2 separate regions of the Homo sapiens genome follow, and region 2 is linked to region 1. The links are contacts of gene promoters, found by promoter capture Hi-C in human tissues and cell types (Jung and others, 2019). All regions are on one chromosome and are shown on one strand. The core of a region is centred on a gene start or on the middle of the fragment in contact, and the rest is flanking DNA. Distances in the headings are between cores, read along the strand shown. Region 1 holds the start of PDLIM5 (PDZ and LIM domain 5). Region 2 overlaps GRID2 (glutamate ionotropic receptor delta type subunit 2).

What was found. Contacts are between HindIII fragments. The study calls those that stand out against the background at their distance.
Region 2: a fragment that was not itself captured here is called in contact with the fragment with the promoter of PDLIM5 in region 1 in 1 of the 25 tissues and cell types used here (lymphoblastoid cells).

What each region holds. Positions count from the first base shown.
Region 1 is chr4:94,448,930-94,455,631 of GRCh38, reverse strand. PDLIM5 (PDZ and LIM domain 5) reads right to left here and starts at 3,690. Exons shown (of 13, transcript NM_006457.5): 1 at 3,637-3,690; 2 at 248-385. The coding sequence starts at 343. RefSeq lists silencers at 3,191-3,450, 3,621-4,040. The HindIII fragment of the contact is 5,884 bases long and covers 1,065-6,702 here.
Region 2 is chr4:93,766,537-93,773,238 of GRCh38, reverse strand. GRID2 (glutamate ionotropic receptor delta type subunit 2) reads right to left here. Exons shown (of 16, transcript NM_001510.4): 15 at 3,789-4,029; 16 at 1-1,163. The coding sequence ends at 741. Among named protein-coding and RNA genes, the nearest start is that of ATOH1, 59 kb to the left of the region's middle. The HindIII fragment of the contact is 3,540 bases long and covers 1,255-4,794 here.

The DNA of each region.
Region 1 (6,702 bases), core at 2,441-4,940:
AGTTAAATGCTTTTTCCATTTTATTATTGATAACATGGGGGAAAACGAAAAGAAGTTAAATTGAAGTCAGTTATCCTTGCTAAATCTACTCCCCTCATCCTTTATTATAGATAATCAAATTTGCCAAGATCAAATCCCAGGAGCAATGATAATAAGTAGAGTACAGGTCAACAGAGAATTAAACAACTCAGCCCGAGGACTAAGCACTGAATGAACATCTATAATAAAATTTGTAAAGTTTACTTACACTAGAGATTGTCAGAGGCATGTTGAAATCCTTACCGCCCTGCAGCCGGAAACCCCAAGGAGCTGGGCCAACCAGTGACACACTGTAGTTGCTCATGGTTCTAATGGCTCAAAGTCCAATGACAGAAAATGAAATATGCTGTGAAAGAAAATCAGATGATTAGCAAAAATGTTTACTTGAAACCCTAGAACATAAATTATGTTTAGTATTTTGTTTGAGGGGGGTGAGAGGATATAGAAGATAAGTCTTAATTAAGTTCTTCATTAATTTCAGTTTAAGAAAAGCAATCTGTGAGCTAATATAAATTTTCTACACTCATGGCAATTTCCATGGTCTAAAAATTCCATATCAGAATACATTTCTAGACACTTAGTATGTTTCACAACTTGCTTCAATCCAATTTTGTGGCTTCTTGCATGCAAAGTTTAACTCAAAGTACTTTACAATACTTCACTAATGTAGCAAGATTTTATTTCAGGTTGAATTCAGAATAATTTTCTCCTTCCCTCCACTTCATGTATTCTTTTGTCTGCAATTGACAAGAGTCTTTCAACTGCACTTACTTAAATTCTAAGTTACTCTAACATGTGAAAGAGACTGCAAATCAGTAGGCTCCCATTCATGCTTTCCAAATACTAAATTCTTTACAATGAGAAGCTGTTTTTCAATGCACAAAACTATTCTCTCCAATCATGAACTACAACTTGTATTTCCTCCTATGGGGACATGGTATTTTCCACACTTAAAGTGATATCTACTTTTCCTTCAGATAGTCAACGATAGGCAATACTCTAGTACAGTGATGTTAGTCACAACCTGCTTTTTGTTTTATACACACACCTCACCAGGCAGAGAGTAAGCATTTGCCACTCAGTGAATAAGATTATGACTAAATACAGCAAAAGTGCTGGGTTAATGCATTCAAATGGAATTGGCAGTTTAGAAAAGAACCAGTGCTTCGGTGCTTTCTTTTGTCTGTTCTGCTGTTAAGTGTGCGTGTGATGACTCTCCTAGTAGTACTTTCATATAATTTTTAAAAAGCAAAAAAAAAAAAAAAAACTTCGAGTTTCCTATTGGTTGTTATAACGGCAGGAGACAGAGGAATGAAGTTTTCTTTTGTTTTAATGGAATACTAAGAAACAATAATTCTCTCTCTTTAAAAAATATTAAAAACATAACAGATATGTAATTTTATATTAAAAACATACTTCCTTGGAAAATGTAAGCTATTCAACCAAATCACCACCTAATATTACCTGTCTTAAAATATGTTTTAACCCATTCAAAATTTCTAGCCCATCACCCCAAATTCATAGTTGCAGATATAGATATTTGAGCCATAGGTATATTTAAAGCAAACATTCCTTCTTCTCATAAAGGGAAAATGGGGCAAAACATTCAAATAAGCCTGGTTTTTAAAGAAAAATTATATCAGGGAAAATAAAAATTACAGAAAATTGTATCAGAAACCGAAACAGCTTTTCTACTGGCGTGGTAGTATACTGAACTACAAGGCAATAACACATTACTTCAGTAATGAAGTAATAGGCACAGAGCACTAAAAAAGATCCAAAGGCCAAGCCGGAAGTCAAACTGTATATATAGGTGAAAAACTACTAGTGGGAAGCTAATAACGAGCCACACATAATTCAATTGCTTTCCCGCTATAAAAGGAGGAGATTTTCAGAAAACTAATAGAAGGACTGTCCTGATATTGACACGATACAAATCAGAATCGTGTAAAGCCAACTGATATTTCACAGGCAGCCTGCCCTCCTTTATTAATCTTTAACTTGTGTCTGGGGAATAATATGAAAGTTGGGCTCAACTTCCTCTGGCCCCATTCTTCCCTACAAGAAAATGTATTTCATTTAGATTATCAACCCATGTACTTGCAACTTCCCTTTACTTGGGGATTCCCTTCCTAACTTCTCTCATTTGTTATTAAAATTCCTAGCACTGGCAAGGTCACAGCCACACTACAAAACCAGTGTCATTTCATTTCTAGTCACTGTCCGTTCATTTCTAGATGCTTCTTCTGCTAGCTTCATTTGGAATTCATCTGCCTTAAAACAGTCTCTGCCCCAAGCAATGGCAATATTTTTATTGGCCTTTCCAAGACTCCTCCATCTGGTTATTAGTGCCCAAGCCCTTCCTCAAATACCAAGCAGGCAGGAAATAGCAGCATACTCTTTCAAACACGTCGAAAAGGTTGGAATTTCTGTAGAGTTATGGATTTTCTTTTAGGGAAAGTCTAAACAATGTCTTTGCTCTAGTACTAGGGAAGGAAGCTTGGTATTTCCCACACTTGTATCTCAGCTTCATTAGTGGGTGAGAGGGGAGAAAGGAGAACTCAAGATGAACTACACAGAGTGACAAAAAAAAAGGCCTGAAATTAAAGAGAAATATCTTGAGATTCTCTTTCCCCGCAATGGAGAGAGAATGTAGGTAGAGCTGAAGAACTAAAGCCACAGGCACAGGATGAAAGCAGCCGACAGGACAGTTTTCCAGGAGGGATTCGCGCCTAGCCTTGTTGGCCAAATAAGGCTACCGAACGGGCCGTTTCCGTGGCAGGCGGGTTCAGACGTCCTCCCCGTCAGGAAGGCGGACTTGGGATAGGATCTGGCGATCACACCCTAAATCTGCCCTGCCCAGCGCCGCCACGAATTTTCCTTCCAAGCTCTGCCCTGTCCACACGCCCTTCCTTTTTCCACTTATTGTAAAACGCACCGAAGGCACAGTCTTACAAAAGCCCCAACAAGTACTCAAGTGTTAACAAATCTCGTGTTCATGACAAATGTGTTTCTTAAACGAGCTTTATTTCTGGACGCGCAGAAGTTTTCCCCAAACAGGTTACACAAAACTGTAAATATCTGGGGGAGAAATAAATGCTTCTCAGTAGCCTGGGAGCAAAGAAAAACTAACGCGCCTTTTCCTTTGAGTCCCGCTTCCTACCCTCCAAGAGACTGGCGCAGGACTGGGCACTCAGACACCACACCACGGTGGTGCCGGGCGACGCCGGCAGCCGGGTGGGTGGGAGCGGCAGTGCCCGTCCCTGCCGGCCCTCGCCACCTCCGGGCGCCCTCCCGCGTCCCCGTCTCCGCTACGCTGGTCCCGGTCGGCCCGGGCTGCGGGGACCCCAGGGCTCGCCCTCTGGCCTCATGCGGACTCCAGCGCTGCCCTTTTCCGGGCGCTCCTTTTCCCAAGCTGCTCTCCCACCTCCGCCGCTCCGCGCCCAGAAAGCACCTGAGGAGCCATCCCTGCCCGAGGAGCGCCCCCTCCTCGTCCCCAACCGGGCTTCCCTTCTCGCGTTCGGCGCACAGCGGCCGGTTCTTTCCCTTCTCCCACCGGAGATCCGAGAGGCGCATCGCCGGCCGGCCGCCACTCACCTCGGGTCCGGCGCGGCGCGGGGCTGCCTCCGCCTCAGACAAGGGCTGACAAGTGACTCGCGGTGAGGGCGCCGTCCCCACCGCCCGCGGGAACTTCCGCCTCCTGGCTCTCCCTCGCCCCACCCCCGACCCAGGACACGCCCCTCCGCTCCCGGCCACGCCTCTGGGCCAGTCCCAGCCGCGCCGCGCAGGGGCGGGGAAGGTGGCGGCGGCGCCGGGCGCTCGGGCTTGCTGGGGCTGGCTGAAGCAGCTGCGGAAAGACAACTGCGCTACCGAGTTTCGGTGGGAGTAGTCTTAGCGGATTTTGAGCGCTACCTGGCAAAGGTCTAACCCTCCGCTCGTCCGTTTTGTAGTGGGTGCATTTTTCTCTCCAGAAATTTAAATTGGCAAGCAGTTGCTCTGCCTAAAAATAGAAGGGTACTTTGGATAAATCTCTATCTATGCAAGTTCAGCGGTTACTGCCTGCGTTTTTTTTTTTGAAAGAGCTTTACATGCTCTGAAAAGTGCAGACCCAGAAGTTTACCTGTCAGGAAGGTGAAAACCAGTAACCCTAACAGAAGTTAACCCTGTCCATCACACCAGAAGACAGTGATACATAAAAGCGGCCAAAAGTGATTCAACCACTGTATCTTCAGTTTATTTTTCTAAATCCAAATCAATAGTCCACTTTCCAGCCTTCTATAGGGTTGCTTGATACGCCCGAGGAATTTATTCATAAGAAAACGTGAATAATGTTCACTGAACATACGGAAAGTAACTAGACTGTTACACTGTGAATTGGCTTATAAAACGTGAAAAGGACAATTCTTAACCAAGGAGCATATAAAGCAAGGATGAACTTCATGAGGTCCGTGAGCTCCCCGGCCCCCAGAAGTGCAAGCAAAATTCCAAAGGCGAAGATCCAAAGCTGCTCTTTCCCTAACGGTAGCCACTGGCCACATGTGGCTATCGAACAGTTGAAATGTGGCTACTGTAACTGAGACCATGAATTTTTTGTTTTACGTAATTTTAAATAATTTAACATTTAAAACTGAAGCAGGATAACATTTCTTTACTTTTTTTTTCTTTGAGACGGATTCTTGCTCTGTCTCCCAGGCTGGGATCAGTGGTGCAATCTCGGCTCACTGCAACCTCCACCTCCCGGGTTCAAGCGATTCCCCTGCCTCAGCCTCCTGAGTAGCTGGGATTACAGGCGTGCGCCACCACGCCCGGCTAATTTTTTGTATTTTTAGTAGAGATGGGGTTTCACCATGTTGGCCAGCCTGATCTCGAACTCCTGACCTCAGGTGACCAACCCGCCTCGGCCCCGCAAAGTGCTGGGATTACGGGCATGAGCCACCGCGCCAGGTCGTTAACATTTCTTTTAAGCACTACATTTAAGGACTAAAGTTGAAAATATAATGCCCAAATTGAAATGCGTTGGAAGTGTAAAATGCACACTGGATTTCGACGACTTGGTATGAAAAAATAATGTAAAATGCCTCAATAATTTTTATATTGATTATATGCTGAAATCATCATATTTTATGTTTTGTTAAATGATACATGATTATGGCCGGGCGCGACGGCTCACGCCTATAATCCCAGCACTTTGGGAGGCTGAAGCGGGTGGGTCACCTGAGGTCAGTAGTTCAAGATCAGCCTGGCCAACATGGCGAAACCCCGTCTCTACTAAAAATACAAAAATTAGCCGGGTGTGGTGGCGCATGCCTGTTATCCCAGCTACTTGGGAGGCTGAGGCAGGAGAATCACTTGAACCCGGGAGGTAGAGGTTGCAGTGAGCCGAGACCATGCCACTGCCCTCCAGCCTGGGCGACAGAGCAAGACTCCGCACCAAAAAAAAAAGAGTAATAATAATAATATTTGATTAAAATTAATTTCACTTTTTAAAAAAAATGTGGCCACTAGATAATTTAAAATTACTTACGTGAGCAGGGTGCAGTGGCTGACACCTATAATCCTAGCACTTGGGAGGCTGAGGTGAGAAGATGGCTTGAGGGCAGGAGTTTGAGGTTAACCTAGGCAACATAGCAAGACCCATCTCTAAAAAAATCCAAAAAATTAGCTGGGCGTCGTGTAGTGTGCCTGTAGTCCCAGGTCCCAGCTATTTGTATTGCTGAGCCCAGAAGTTCGAGGCTGCAGTGAACTATGATCTTGTCTTTGCACTCCAGCCTGGGTGACAAAGGAAGACCCTGTTTCTAAAAAAATAAATAAATAAAATTACATATGTGCTTCACATTATATTTTCATTGGACAGCACCAGTCCATAGCTTTCACCACATTTTTCAAAAGATGGCTTTGGGGGAAAGTGTTTCCTAGTGTGAAAGCTGGTTTAGAGAGTCTAATATATGTTATCATGTTTGACATCTCACCCAAAAATAAAAAAAAAATAACAATAGCTACCATTAGCAAATACCTACCATGTGCTATGCAGTGTGGTAGTCCTTACAAGAACTTTATAAAATGAATGTCATCCTCATTTATAGATAATAGGTCGCAAGCAATTACAGCTTCTGCCAGTTCCACAGGGCCATGGCTCGAGTTAACCTCTAGGAGTCCCAACTCTGCCCCTTCTCATCTGTTTGCTGTTGATACAGTTAAATTGATCCTGGATCAACAAAGATTAATTTAAAGACATCAACTGCAGATAGCCTATGGAGTTATCACTAGAGGATAAGCTTCTTGAGGTGATGAGGAAGAGTTGAGAATGGGCAGACTGTTGCTTACTTATGCAAATTCCACTTTACCCCATAATTGCTAGCCTGTCTCTGAACCTCCTCCTACTACTGCAGTTTAAATCCTGGGCTACAGAGTAAATTAACCAAATTAAGTTGTCTTGCATAGACTGATATTTATCCAAGTGTCCTAAAAAGGACCGATTGCATCAAAATGACACGGATAGCTTGTTAAAATTGCATTTTCCTGGATCCCCTCTGGACTCAGAATCCTTGTAGGTGAGCCCTTGGAATCTTTTTAACAAACACTCCCTCCCCACCTCCAGGTAATTATTAAACTGCAGTGCTTAAAAACTACTTCCCTAGAGATAGTGCTATGTCTCCGGTTTAA
Region 2 (6,702 bases), core at 1,775-4,274, 680 kb after region 1:
TATATATGTATATATATGAAATACTAATTTATTTAACACAATAGAGGCTTCTGCCATATGATAAAGTTTACTGTACATAAGAAAAAACTTTTAATACTGTACAATCACATAAAGGTCATATGCACTGTTGCAGTGCAAGAGTAGTTTTAACTGTAGTCTTGACTGGCATATTAATGGCTTTTTTGTAATCCTACAAAATTGCATTCTCATCTTATGTGGCCTGAATGGTCTTAAAATTGTTTTATAAACACTGCAGGGGTTGCCTTTGGTCCACAGTTAAAGGACACTCAACAGCAGTGGAGCATTGTATGGATGCAGCAGAAGAATGTAAAAAGACTGAAGTTATTGCAATTGTATTTCAAAAAATAGAGAAATGTTACAGAAGAGGCCTTTATGTAAAATTAATCCTGCATATACTTTTAGTATACTCAGTGCACATTTCCTATACTTGATGTACAGTATATGAAAAGCAGACTAATAGGATCCTAGTACACTACCTTCTTGGGGAACAAGTTGAGTAATGAAAAAAAGTGGAGGAAAATGTACAGGAAGGGAGGGGGAAAGAGAGAAAATCATAGAGGAGAGAGGAGAGGGAGAAGGTGGGAGGAAAAAACTAGAATTGTTACTAATAATCCTGATCTTTTTTTTAAACGTTACATCCATGTTAGTCCCACAATATTACAGTTGCTCCTTGCAAAGGGAGTCCTAAAAAAGAAACAGTGAAGAGATTTGTTTGATGCTCATATGGAGGTGCCTCGGTCTGGATCATTACCCAGATTGAGCCCCAGGGTAGGAGTTGGTTGATAAGGAATAGATGACATTGTTTTTATAGGACTCCTGAAAAAGCCCCCATTAGGTGCCCTGTGCCTAAAAGGGCCAGTTCGGTGCTCAGGCACGTTGCCAAAAGTGAAACCAGAAGCAGCTTTAGCTGACAGTGTGCGGCTAAGAGTCTGGATCTGCTCTGGGATAAAGGTTGTTGTGGTAATATGAGTGTTCCTGAAATCACTGATTTGCTCCAGTGCTTGTCGTGTTGGCAAAGTGTCAATGTCCAGAGGGGTCAAATCAATTGACGAGGTGGAAAACTGTTTATGGGGGCTGTCGTCATCTGTGCACAAGCTATTTACACGTCTATGGAGGTGCTCCAGGTCAATTTCCTTGTCATCCTGGAGATGAAGAAAAAGAAAATAAGGTTCTCATCAGTACTAGCTTTGATGGTTAAAAAAAAAAAAGTAGTTCAGCAAACATGTAATTAACTGAACTTTGGGGTTTATTCATTTAACAAATATTTATTGAGCACCTAGTATGAGCCAGGCACTGTGCTAAGTTCTGGGGGATTCCAATTCTGAGATAAGATTATCTACAATAAATATTTTTCTTGCAGTAAAGGTTTTAAAGTGATCATATGCCACATGCAACTACAAAGATATGTAAGCAGTTGATGGGTGATTGCCATTCTATAAAAGACAGACCCAGGCAAAATTGTAACAATAGAAAGTATGGTTTTGGCAACTCTACCCCCCACCTCTTCTTTATACATGCTTCCTCCCTTTTCAGGGCGTCTCATTCCAAGTTAAATTTTTGTTCCTTTCAACCACTTACTCCTAAACTTAAGTTTCCATTCTTGAAAAAAATGATATAGTAAGCTATTTCATACTGAAGTGTTAGTGACTGTTAAAGTGTTATTCCTTGTAAGCCAAGGATATGTGCGATTGTTTAGAGAGAGCAATACTCAACACAAAATAATTTCTAATTGAGGGATTTATGCACTCAAGGTATCTAGCACCTGAATCAGTCAATACTGTGAGGTCAGTGAGATATTTAGGGACCCCTTCAAGTCAGGGCACGTGAGTGATAGCTTTAGTTTAGGGCCAGCTTTATGCTAACTGACCTCAAAACCAAAGACGTTTTAAGCTATGCTAATGGCGTCTTGGTAAGAAGGCAGTTAATAAACAAAAATATAAGTAAAATCTCAGATTTTTGGAATTGAAACCCATTGATAAGTTCCTTATATTTTTCACTAAAAGTGAGTATTAACGCCCAATATTTGAGAAATAAAACTGGAAGGAAATAAAATTATCCTTGTTATTAGTCTTATTTACAGCCAAACTCAATAAATTAAATTTATGAGAATTTAAGATATCTATTAATCATAAGAGGAGAAAATATTTTTTCATAGGATCTGGATTAGCTGTCACAAGTTAGAATGGAGCATGTATTTTTTTCATTGTGCTATTATAGTGTTCCTCAGTGAAAAATATTTTGATGTGCATCACTGTTTTTCCTTCTCCCTTCTTATTTCAAAATTCAATAAAAAATATCCATTAATGCAATATTATCACTGAGACTTTAGAGGATTGAGACATATAATTTTATGGTTCCCACAGCAACTGTAATGTAGTCATCCATCAACAGATATAATAATGCAAAATTTTAATATCATATAGAGTAATTCAAAATATAAGGAGCTTGGGGAGTCCTTACTTTCCAGATTTTTAAAAATATGAGTCTCAGCTATAATGTTGCATTAATGTGGTCTTTTGCATTGAATCAATGTCAACGGAGATACCAGAAGCTTATTCCACAAAGAAAACACTACAATGTGACTTGATTAATTTATAATTCATTCTTCACATATTTAGAATGTATGCTCATTCACACAGGTAGGAAGCTAAAATTCATCTTTGCTAAAGCCAAGCTTTTCCTTATAAATGCTGCTGATCAATTTTGCATATAAGGTGATAAGAAGGAATCCTTACACTACTTTTGAAATCACCCTGTTTGAAAAAAACACATTAATGTGCAACAATTCATATGCAAATGAGAAGCCGTATTTATTGTGCATTAAAGTAGATCCTTTCAGGAGTTGCCTCAGGCATCAGTTAGTCAGCCAAGTTCTAGTTATAGAAACTTTAAAAGTTTCTTTGAAGCTATCCATCACATAAAATTGTTTAGCAAATTCAGATTGGTTTTTGTTTCAATTTGTGAAGCTTTAGTGAATATGACTTCATCAGTTAAAACATTTTCACCCCTTTAGTCCAATGGAAATAAGATAAATTAATCAAGATTTAGCTTCAGATTTTCTTTAATTTATAAGTCTCATACTTCTTGATGAAAACAATGCTCAGGCCACTATAAAAGAGATATGTGTAATTCTGTAATTATTCTTTCAGATATTGAGATAAAATTTAATATGGCCCTGAAGTGAAGCTGACTCCACAGTAAAGGAGAAACATTGAAATTTGGATGTTTTCATGATGTGGATTTTGGATTTGATAAGCTTGGGGCCATCGAAGAGCTTCTATAGGTCTACATGAGTAGAGAAGGAGGCAGTCACTAGTGGTGAAGAGAAAATTCTGATCATTTTTATTACAGTATTGTATTTTTGGGGGGCTAGTCTTAGAGATACGAGGAATTTACTTACAAGTTAAACAACTAAGTGAAACAAAATGGTAAGTATCTCTGTGAACTGGTCAAAGGAATCATGGCCTTTAAAAATCACTGAATTAAAATCTATTCTGAGATTTGAGAGAATTTCAAAGCCCATTATGGTATATGAATTTCTAAGTCTTTCAAACACTATAGTCTCCTCTTCACTGATCTGGGGATATCCTAAAATGGAAATTGATATTGATCTTACCAATTTTTATATTTCACAACTTTATTTTTAATCTTCAAGAAACGAAAAAACAAGGACCACCCCCAACCCATTATCCTCCCTGGGATGGTCCTCCCTGGAAATACAGCCTGCTTGTTGATTCAATTTAGAGCCAAATCTCTCAATCAAGTACCTCTTTTGATGGAACCCGGGAGCCTTTCCTCTTGTTCCACCACGTCTCCAGCATGGCTATGAAGCAGGAGAGGACAATTCCAGCAGCCAGGATACAAAAGACCCCTGCAAAGCTCTTTATGTCCAGGGCGCCTCCTTTCTGCTTTGTGTCCACTGACGAGTACAGGTCACACTGGCCATTCTTAGGCCACCATTTGTGCTTCAGGATGTCCATGTCACCATTCTGCTGAAGCTCCAGGATCCTTGGGATAAAGAACATAAGCATGTGTTATTACAGACATAGTTATCGCCCTGGTTCACAACACATCCATTTATAATCCCACCTCTGTAGGATGGTGGCTGTCAAAGGGAAATGAATATATAGATCTGCTTGTTTTAGATGGAATGCTAGGAAACAGAAAGTCATCATTGCTTTGATTCTACAGACAGCATTGCACCACACTGCTTTCCTCTCTCTCTTCACCCATCCCACCCTCCCATCTTCCTCTCTCCTTTTCTTCCTATTCTTCTTCTTCTGGTTTCATTCTATAATTCTAAATATTTTCCTCCTGGTTTGCTTCAGTGTGTTTTTACAATCACAATTCAGAGGCACTGTTTTTATATGCTTTCAAGTTGTTGTAGTTCTGTGTCCCTTTCCTACATCCAGAATGATACTCAGGATCTTAATGCTTTTATGAAGAACGTTTTGCTGCTTAGAGCAAGATGCTGGCGTAATGTCACCCAGCATATGCTACACACAAAGAAATTCAATTAAGAAGACCTATTATTTAACACAGTGTGAGAGGAAGCCTTGGGATAAGTTTCAAGTTGATAAAATACATCTTTTTTGGTTTTTCGCACAACTGATCTAGTTTCCCTTTTAATGCCAAAGGGGAAGTAATCTTACCTTGGAAAACAAGAAGAAAACCTGACCAGAGGCTTTCAGAAGTAGTTAAATTCAAATAGGAAAAACCCTCTTCTTTTTCTTCTGCTGCTTCTTTTTCCCCTCCCCAGAGTCTGAGGGTAGCTGCACACTGCAGCTTTTTAAAGTGTGTTTTTCATAGAGGAATTATTCTCAATTCCCAGTGCTTCTTAGGCTCTACCTGAGGCCAGCCTAGATGTGGCCCTCCTCCAGCTATGCCCTTTTTCACAGGGCAAGGAAGATCAGACCAAGGCTGTGTGCCTGTACAGAGTGTGCATCGTCCTCTGGGTTCCCTGGAATTTCCTGGCCAAACAGCTTAGTGCTCTTCCAGGGCCTGCCAGGCCTATTCCCAGGGTTGTCCTCCTGGCAGAAGATCTTACAGCCACGGGTGCACCATAGCTCTATAGGGTGGAGTTTGTAGAGTGTGGACAGAGCTCAGATGAGTGAGCTCGGGTGTATACAGCCTTGCGTAGGAGACACTTCAGCGTGCAAGTTGGAGCTGCAGGTGGAAAGAAAGGGCCCCAGAGCCCTGTGCTCCTGGGTCAGTTCAGACCTCCTGGCTAGTCACATAGAAACTTAAACCTGGCCTCCCAGGGGTCATGAAGGTATATTTGTCCAGATAAGAACATAGAATATATTATATCAAACAGGTTTTAGTTTAATGCATAATTTTTACATAATTAGACTTGGGGTATGTGAACCTATATTTGTACTCTTGCCCAAGGTCTTGGATTATTTGGGGTGAGACTGCTTACAATTTAAGAGTTCAGAGAATGGAGTTGTAGTGACCTTTTTACCTGTTTCATGTCATCCACATGGCTAGAAGAACAAGCAACATGATAAAGGGAAGAAGATTTTGTGCATTGGAAGTTGGGTCAGTGTTTAATCTGAGTTAAACTAGAGTGAGACCAGCCCTTAAGGCTCTGGTAGAGGGTTGGTCTCAGGTCCCTGTCATCTCTCCCAGACGTTCCCACAGCCTCAGCTCTGGTGCCCCGTGCTGGCAGTCCAGGACTGAGACTGTTCTGAAACCTCCCCCACAACCTGGACCTTTTCTCCTTGCTTCCTGTGAAATGTATCTGTCTAGAGTGTTGCTCTAGAAGAGTAATTAATTTGATTAATTGAATTTACTAAAATGATTATGAATATTAATGGGTTATATGTCACCCTTATTCCAGCTTCCATTCCAGAAAAAGCCATTTGCATTTCCAGAATTTCCAAAAGTGCATTTCACAGCAAACCAGTACCTACAAGACCTCTGTAAGAAAAGGGCCTTGTGGTTATTAATTCTGAGAAACACACTCTTGGGAATTTACAAAGATGTCAGCCTATTAAAGACTCTCAGAAGACCAGCAGAAAAGAAAACGGCATGATTTTGTTTAACTCAGCATTTCCCAAACTTATGACCTTCATTCCCCTTCTCTCATTTTGCTTTCCAAGTAACAGGTTTAAGAAATACACATGGGAAATAATCTCTTGATCCAAAGAAGCAACTACTTGTAGAAATTTCCAGCACTGTGTTAGGCAACACACAAAGATGTAATCATGGTATCAAAATTACTTTCCTGGCCTATTCATGAATATCATTTAAATGATGTTGGTATTGCTCGTCGATAGGTGTAAAGCTTCAGTTATGCAAGAGGGAAAAGTTCTTGAAAACTACTGTACAACATTGTAACTATAGTTAGCAATACTGTATTGTACATTAAAAATTTTCATAGAATAGCACCCATGTTAAGAATTCTTACCATAATAATAAAAAATAATGGCACATCCCTTATGTATTTGCCCACCTAAAGGCTCTAGGTAGTCAGAGCACCATTGATTACCTTGGAGGAAAAATGTAGTCATCTTTGAACAAATAATTCTTTTTAAATTTGAGTTTATAAGTACTTGTAGATATAAAAGGCAACTACAGCAACATTTGCTTAATGAGAATACATCTGGGCACAAAATGAGATCCTGTTATCCTGCTCTCCTATTTGCATCACACCATATTGGTCAGTAGCCTTGTGAT